2 separate regions of the Homo sapiens genome follow, and region 2 is linked to region 1. Evidence: promoter capture Hi-C in 16 types of primary human blood cells and fetal thymus (Javierre and others, 2016). All regions are on one chromosome and are shown on one strand. The core of a region is centred on a gene start or on the middle of the fragment in contact, and the rest is flanking DNA. Distances in the headings are between cores, read along the strand shown. Region 1 holds the start of SYT8 (synaptotagmin 8). Region 2 has its middle 7.8 kb from the start of KRTAP5-5.

Region 1 (3,755 bases), core at 1,256-3,755:
GGAGGCTCAGGCAGGGAGGGCGGGGGATTCCCAGATCTGGGAGGGGAGACCCGAGAGCCCCCAGCGCCCAAGGGTCTCCAGGGCACTGTCCCCGGGAGCCATGAGGGAGGCCGGGTCCCGAGGGGCGGACGGCGCCACCTGGTGGCCATGCGCCCGCTGCACCTGCACCTCCCTGGGGTCCCGGCGGTCCGGAGGGACCCCGCACCTCCCCAGGCTTTGGGACCCCCAGCATCGGCAGCCAGCGCCCCCAGGGTCCTGGGGTTCTCCGGAGCAGCTTCTGGGTGGCCCCTGTGCTCCTCTGGGGACAAGGTCACCAGGCTGGCCCGGGAGTGCCGCTGGCCGGCCGCGGCAAATCACTGCAGGGGAGCTCTCCCCGCCCGGCCCTGACTGTTCTTAGACTAAAGGAGGGGGGACGCCAGCAAAGCGGGGGCACAGGGGAGGGGCGCACGCACACGCACACGCACACATGCCCGCACTCACAGATGGAGATTCTGTATTGGCAACTTATCCGGAATCTCAACCATAAAAATCTGGAGTGAAGCTACTTTAATCTCAGCATGTATACAGGCTCTGACATTTCAAAAAGAGAAGTTGCCTTGAAACTCCACGTAGGGAGGAGGCAGTGGCCTGTTTGAATCTGGCCGGCACAGTCCCGCTCCAGGGACCCTGCGGACCCAGCCCATTCCATCAGCCACCACCAGTAGGAGCGCTCCGCCAGCCACGTGTGGGACGCCGGACCCACCTGGGAGTGTCCCCCAGGAGCTGAGGGGCTGCCGAGGCCCGTGAGCTTCACTGCACACCCACACTGCATCTGCAGGGGACTCACCCAAAGGGTCCCCCGAACTCGACAAGCTCCGTCATTTGTGAGGCCCAGTGCAGAATGAAAATGTGCAGCATCTTGTTCCAAAATTAAGAATTTCAAGATGGCCCCAGCACGCATTAAACCAAGCAGGGACCCCTCTGAGCATGGGGCCCTGCGCACAGGGTGCAGCCTGGAAAGCTGGCCCTGACCTCCGCATCTCCTTTTTGTACCTATAATCCCTCCATTGTGCTGGCCCCTGTGTTCTGGGGACAGGCTGGGCTTCCCAGGCCATGCTGGCCTCCAGAGCCACAAAACTAGAGCTCCCAGCCTCGGTCCACTCGTCTGTAAAACACCTGGCCTGCTGACCTCACAGGGTCAACATGCGTGTGGGGCTGGAACCTGGACCCTCCCTCCCCTCCTTGAGCTGCAGCCCCCTCATCTGAACACTGGGGGTTTGGGTCCGTTCTGGGAGTGCAGCTGCCTCTCCCAGCCTGCCAGGGAGTGGGGCATTGATGCTGTGTGCGCGTGCGTGTGTGTGTGTGTGTGTGTGTGTGTGTGTGTGTGTGTGTGTGTGTGTCTGGAGTCATGGCAGGGTCCCTTTCTGTCTGTCTCCTTGCTCTGCCCCAGACTGGGGGGCTGCAGAGGTGAGGGTATCTGGCCTCAACAGCTGCTTATTCCCGATGGGATGGCCTGGGCTGGGCCCCTGAGGCCAGGCTGACTTGGACATGGCAAGAGGGGTCCCAGGCTCTTGTGGGCAAAGCAGGGGAGGCGCCAATGTGGAGGAACAGAGTCTCCTGGCTGGCTGCTGCTCTCTGGAGCGGGTGGAGTCAGGGAAGAGCTGAGCTGGGGAGTCACCCTGGGCCTGGGGTCACCGTAGGCCCCATGTAGCACCCTGGTTCCCCTGCCTGTAGGTGACAGGAGCCAGCCCAGCCAGGTGTGCTCCCTCCCCAGGCCCTAGGCAGGCGGGTACAGGGGCCAGCAGCTGCGCCCGCCCCACCTTCCTTCCCACCCACATGCCGAAGGGTGGCCAGGCAGGCAGGTGGACGAGTCCAGGCAGCGGCTGAGTCAGTGTGTGTGGAATGTTCTGGCCGCTCCCAGCTGCACCCTGCCCCTACCTGCCACCACCTCACCTTCATCCTCAGGCGCTGCGGCCCTGAGCCCCTGCCAGGAATGCACCTTTAGCCCAGGCCTGCTCAGTGAGCTCCGCCGACAGCCAGCCCTGCTCCTCCCGCCATGACCCTGCAGACCCCTCTGGGCTTCCAAGTTCCTGGGGGCTGCAGTGAACATGCTCCACCTGCATGGCTGGCAAACCATGGTGGGCCCCAGCTGTGGTGCGTGCTGGGGTAGAGGCAAGGAAGTGATGGGACCGCAGAGATGAGACCCCCAGGGATGAGATGGGACCCCCAGGCAGGGCCCAGGGTCCAGGGCCCAGGAGAGAGAAGCAGGGAGGGAGAGAGCTTCCTGGTGGAGGACGCATCCTACAGTGGGGGCAAGGGTGCTCTGAGGTCCGGTGAAGGCAGGGACTAGGCTGCCCAGGCCCTGCCTGCTTGGCTGGGGCTGGGGGCTGCTGGGAGGTGGCTGGGAGGCTGGGCCTGGGCAGCTAAGCTGGAGCTTTGGCCAGGGTCCAGAGCCTCCCTCCCTTCAGCTTCCTGCTGCACAGAACCCTCGCCCCTGGCCACCCCGTGCTGCCTCCTTGCCCTGGCAGACCCAGCACTGGCTGCTGCTAGTCAGATGGGGTAGCGGGCAGGGGCCGGAGGGGCCACCCTCCCAGCTGACCCAGCCTCCTGGGCCGCTTCTTCCAAACCAGCAGGGTAGAAAGATGGGGCACCCACCAGTCTCTCCCAGTGCCCCGGCCCCAGCTGGCACCACAGCTATACCTGGGCTTATTCCAGACCTTGTCGCCGGGACCCCCTGTGAGTTGTGGGATTCCCAAGAGGGGTGTGGGGATAACCCAGCCAAGTGGGGGCTGCAGCTGTCCACAGATGCACTCAGCCTGGCCTCTACCCCAGGGCCCCGCTGGGCTCTCATTGCCGGCGCCCTTGCCGCGGGCGTCCTCCTCGTCTCCTGCCTCCTCTGTGCTGCCTGCTGCTGCTGCCGCCGCCACAGGAAGAAGCCCAGGGACAAGGAGTCCGTGGGTCTGGGCAGTGCCCGCGGCACCACCACCACCCACCTGGTGAGGAGCGGCTCCTTGCTCACTCAGTCCAGAGAGGGCTTGAAATCCAGGCTCCAGAGCCCAGGGCAGCGAGGCGAGTTCAGCCCCAGGGATGGTTTAACCCCCACAGAGGCAGGGCGTTGAGGACCTTCCTGGCAGGGAAAGTGGGTGAACAGAGGTGAGAAGGAGGCCATGCAACAGGGGCTGCCCCATGGGCCCGAGGGAGCCACAGCGGGTTCTTGAGGAAGGCAGGGGGTACCCCAGATGCCACGTTTTGGGTGGGTTTGGCCGGTCTCACAGAGCGAAGCCGACGATTTGTGCCTGTTGGGTGGCCTGGCCTGGAGGCGGGGGGTCTTGACCCATGTCATGCAAGGGCTGCCCGGGAGCCCAGGGCTCTGATGAGGCATGATGTCAGCACCACCTGCCCCTTGTCCCAACTCACTCCAGGTGCAACCTGATGTGGATGGCCTGGAGTCCAGCCCGGGGGATGCTCAGCAATGGGGGTGCCTGCAGCTCTCCCTGGAGTTCGACTTTGGAAGCCAGGAGGTGAAGGGCCCCGCTGCGCAGGACCAGCGGTTCTGCGAGTTTCCGGAAAGGGTGACGGGGGAAGGGCAGACCCCATGCCCTGGGTGGTGGGGAGCTGACAGGGCAGGGGCCCTTGGCTGAGCCCACCCCGCTGGCTCCCAGATCAGGGTGGGCCTGAGGCAGGCAGCCGACCTGAGGCCTGGGGGCACCGTGGACCCCTATGCCCGGGTCAGCGTCTCCACCCAGGCCGGACACAGACATGAGACAAAAGTGCAC
Region 2 (4,839 bases), core at 1,486-3,985, 200 kb before region 1:
TGCAGATGTGTGCAGACGTGGTTAGGATGCACACGTATGTCCTGTTGCTCTGTCAGTGGAGAGTGTTGACAGCTGTTGTGAGACCTCGGTTCTTGTCTTCTTAGTTTAAAATAATTTAAACAAGACACACAGGAGATGCAGCACAGAGGAATTCATTGCAAAGGAGAAAGAATGTTGTGGAAGTGAGGTGCAGAACAGACAGGATGCCCTGGGCGAGACAGGGTGCAGGGCGGGCTGCTCACAAGGATGAGAAGCAGAGACCGGCCTGAGGGAGGCTCCCTTTATGGGACTCTTCCATGATTATTCCTAAGGAGCTGGGAAGAGGTGTTGCTAGGAAGCATGTTCTGGGTGGTCCTCTGGGTGCATGTGTGCAGTAGCTGTACACGCTTGTTCATACCATTCATGTCTCATTAGCATCTTAAATCTCCACCCAGGGATGTGCTTTATACTATTATAAGGAGCAAAGGGTCAGAGTGAGGACAGGTAAAATCAAAATGTGCATGCTCTCTACGGGGGAAATTCCCTCCTGAGATAGCTTTGTTCGAATGAGCTCAATGACAACATGAATGGGGAGGCTTGTTGCCTTGGCCCAGTGGTCACTACGGTTGCTGCGAGGAGATGGCCACTTCCTTGACAACCTCTCCTGCCTCAAGAGGGCCCCAAACCTATGGCACCCCACAGCAGCAGGAGGTTGAATACCAGGCTCCAACCCAAGGACCAGGGACCCTTGGAGACATGGCAACTTCTAGGACTGAGGCAAAAAAGATAAAGGTGAGTCTGGAGCATCTTGTAGCTCCAGAAAAAAAAAATCTAAAAGAAAACAAAGCAAAGCCCCGATACATGCAGTGATGGAAAGTATCAGAAGCACGTTGTAGGGACACGTGAGCCAAAAGAAAGCGCTCCTGGGGGTTACAAATAGAACAATTCGATCAACACAATAAATAGAGAGAGTAGCATTGACTCTAACCCGAACTGTAAAATAGATATCCATGAACATGACTGATAGAAATAAGTGATTTAGTAAATAAATAAAGGAGGATCACTTGAACTCGGGAGGCAGAGGTTACAGTGAGCCGAGATCGCACCACTGCACTCTAGCCTGGGCAATAGAGCGAGACTCCGTCTCCAAAAGAAGTAAATAAATAAAAGTAAATAAATAAATGGGAGTGGATAGGCAAGTCCCCCATGCAGAAGAGTTCCCACTAATTCTGTGTAGCCCTCACCCCTTAAGTGCAGGCAGCACTGGGACCTCCTTCTGAGAATGCAGCACGGGACAGGGGAATTCAGGAGCATCTTTCCGTGGGGAATCCTGAAAGACACAAACACAGCCAGGAGACGGGGGCAGCATAGCCCGCGAGGCACGACGAGCCATGCCAACAGGACAGGCCCTCAGCATGGGGTGACGAGAAGGGCATCTCCCTCTGTGCTCTTCCTTCCCACATCCACAGCCCCGTCTAATCGTGAAAACACCAGACAGATCCTAATAAGGGACACCCTACAAACACCTGAGCAGTCCTCTGAACCCTCCAGGTCACCACCAACAAGGAGAGCCTGGGAAACGGTCACCGCCCAGAGGAGCCCAGGGAGACGGACAAGGGAATGTCACGTGGGACCCTGGGTGGGGCCCTGGGACAGAAACGGACCAGCACGTAAATGCTAATGAGAGAAGAACAAAGTGTGGACTTTAGTTAATAATAATGTATCAATATTGGTTCTCTATTTTATTTTATTTTAATTTTTTTTTTGAGATGGAGTCTCGCTCTGTCACCCAGGCTAGAGTACAGTGGCGTGATCTCGGCTCACTGCAACATCTGTCTCTCAGGTTCAAGCAGTTCTCCTCCTTCAGCCTGCTGCATAGTTGGGATTACAGGGGTCCACCACCACGCCTGGCTAATTTTTGTATTTTTAGTAGAGACGGGGTTTTGCCATGTTGGCCAGGCTGGTCTCGAACTCTTGACCTCAAGTGATCCGCCTGCTTCAGCCTCCCAAAGTGCTGGGATAACAGGCGTGAGCCACCGTACTTGGTCATTATTTAGTTTTTAGTTTAGTTTAGTTTAGTTTTTTCTTCAGACAGAGTCTTGTTCTGTGGCCCAGGCAGGAGTGCAGTGGTATGATCTCAGTTCACTGCAACCTCCACCTCTTGGGTTCAAGCGATTCTCCTGCCTTAGCCTCCTGAGTAGCTGGGATTACAGGCGCCAGCCACGACGTCCAGCTAATTTTTGTATTTTAGTAGAGACAGGGTTTCACCATGTTGGCCAGGCTGGTCTCCAACTCCTGACCTCAAGTGATCCTTCCGCCTCAGGCTCCCAAAGTGCTGGGATTACAGGTGTGAGCTACCACGCCTGGCCCAATATTGGTTCTCTAATTGTAAGAAACATACCATACTGAAGTAAGATACTAATAATGGGGGAAGCTGGGTGTAAGGTGTATGGAAACTTGCTTTGCAATTTTTCTGTAAATCTAAAACAATTCCAAAAATAAAGCTTATTAAAAAATAATTTAGACTCCCATGAAACTGATTTCTTTGAAGAATTAATTTTTTTAAAAAAAATTTCTCCACAAGAATCACCAGGTCTACATGCGCTGACATTTATCATTTAAAACAATTTATCAGAAACTAATCCTAATGTTGTCACAGCCTGTAAGATACCTTTACTGCTCCAATAACAGCTGTATCAGCACAAAGATTCTTCTCAAAGGTCATCAAAAATTATTTGAGATCTTGCATTTGCCAAAAAAGACTGAAATAACTTTCAGTTATGTCAAAACCGAAAATGAAATTTCTGAAGTATCCATTTTGATGATCTAATAAATGAATTTGCAGAAAAAATTGGAAAAATCATAAACATCCTATTAATAAAATATTATTTATTATATAAAATTCTGAATCCAAAAATTATTGTTTTGTAGTTTGTAAATTGGTGTTGTTACTTGGCACCACTATCACCCCTATTTATTGTGTAAGTGATAAAATCATTCCTAAAGGGGAAAGCTTTCACTGTGGTTTTTTGCTGCTTTTTTTTTGTCCCAAGACAGAGTCTTGCTATTTCCCCCAGGCTGGAGTGCACTGGCACAATCTTGGCTCACGGCAACTTCCACCTCCTAGGTTCAAGCAATTCTCCTGCCTCAGTGTCCGGAATAGCTGGGATTACAGGCACACGCCACCACCCCTGATTAATTTTTGTATTTTTGGTAGAGACAGGGTTTCACCATTTTGGCTAGGCTGGTCTCGAACTCCTGACCTCGTGATCTGCCCACCTCAGCCTCCTAAAGTGCTGGGGTTACAGGTGTGAGCCACCACACCCAGCCTTTTGCTACCTTTTGAACCAGGAGTCCCACCATTTCTGTGTCTGGCCTATCTCTCTCCCTCTCCAGGGCCCAGCTCCTCGGACCCCTCCCGGGTCCTCACCTGACCCTGCCACACTCTCGCCCCCGACCCTGGGCTGGGCTCCACCACAGGCTGCTGACAAATAAACAAGAGATTGGCAAATCAGACCCAGCATCAGATTTGCACAATGATGCATCGTGGCAACGAAGGGTTGACATCAAGAAAGCAAATGTGCCTGATATTGTAAATAATACCAGACATAAATGAGGCTGCATGTGGTGGCTCATGCTTGTAATCCCAGCACTTTGGGAGGCTGAGGCAGGTGGATCACCTGAAGTCAAGAGTTCAAGACAAGCCTGGCCAACATTGCAAAACCCTGTCTCTACTAAAAATACAAAAATTAGCCAGGCGTGGTGGCAGGTGCTTGTAATCCCAGCTATTCGGCAGGCTGAGGCAGGAGAACTGCTTGAACCCAGGAGGCAGAGGTTGCAGTGAGCCCAGATCACGCCATAGCACTCTAGCTTGGGCGTCTCAAGAAAAACAACAACAAAAAACCAAACCAACAATAAAACACTCACCGTAGTAATGACAGACACGGGGGAAAACATCATCTGTTTTCTCCATGTTGCGGAAAAGGTATTAATAAACCATCAATGCCTGATACAGTAACAATAGAACGGCGACAGATGGAGAAGCCCTTCATACAGTATAAACACAGGCACGCCCATAATTAGGTTTTCCTGCAAATGTGCACGTTCATATCTAAAGCGAAATCACATCTCTATTCGGCACCATGCCAGGGGCGGAAGGCGCCTGCTCTCTAAGACAATGGTTTTATAGTAACGATTGCAGCCTCCACCCAGAGAGCTTCAGGGGCCTGAGCTAGGGGCTGTGCTGAGGAGGGGGCTCCGGTCACCTGCGGTGTCTCCCCCACCCCTCCCAACGCCCAATCTCCTCCAGCTAGGCCTCCCTCTCGGACCCCGGGCCTTGCTTGAACCAAATGGTTCGACCTCTGCCTCTTCCTAAGGCTCATTCCTGAGCTGGGAAGAGAAAGTGAGGAAATTCCTTGCAGAAAAGGAGAAATCAGTCATCACCTTGTGTGTTGTGTGTGAGGCTCTCCCAGCCCGTGGAGGCGGGACCTTTTATTCCCTCGATTTGAAAGGCACCAAACGCAGATTCTCTGCATGTCCAAACTTTTTTACAAATGGAAGAAGAATGCATAAGAGCGTAAAGCATAGCTTGCACCCCAATACACTTTTGGCTTCTTGGGTTTGGGCCGTCTCGATCTGAGCTTGCACCCTGCTCTTCATTTCCTTCTTTTCCCCAAGCTGGGGGGCACCAGGCTGCAGCCGTGGTCATCGTCCCAGTGTGAACCCCCGAGGCCTGCACAGCTGCAACCATTTTCTTTGTACTTAAACACAAACGTTTATGTTCGCCAGCGCCCGTGTAAACTAGCAGCTCCCTCTTTCCGTCTCCTTGCTTGCGTTCCTTCGACGTGTCACCTCACAGAC

What was found. The method cuts DNA at HindIII sites, captures the fragments that hold promoters and counts their contacts. A CHiCAGO score of 5 or more calls a contact.
Region 2: a fragment that was not itself captured here is called in contact with the fragment with the promoter of SYT8 in region 1 in 1 of 17 cell types (fetal thymus); the score reaches 5.1 in fetal thymus.

The regions. Positions count from the first base shown.
Region 1 is chr11:1,832,485-1,836,239 of GRCh38, forward strand. It overlaps SYT8 (synaptotagmin 8), which reads left to right and starts at 2,506. Exons shown (of 8, transcript NM_001394072.1): 1 at 2,506-2,715; 2 at 2,812-2,975; 3 at 3,402-3,500; 4 at 3,642-3,755. The coding sequence starts at 2,622. RefSeq lists silencers at 35-244, 305-364 and enhancers at 467-1,082, 1,083-1,696. The HindIII fragment of the contact is 25,919 bases long and covers 1-3,755 here.
Region 2 is chr11:1,635,152-1,639,990 of GRCh38, forward strand. No RefSeq gene overlaps it. Among named protein-coding and RNA genes, the nearest start is that of KRTAP5-5, 7.8 kb to the left of the region's middle. The HindIII fragment of the contact is 509 bases long and covers 2,482-2,990 here.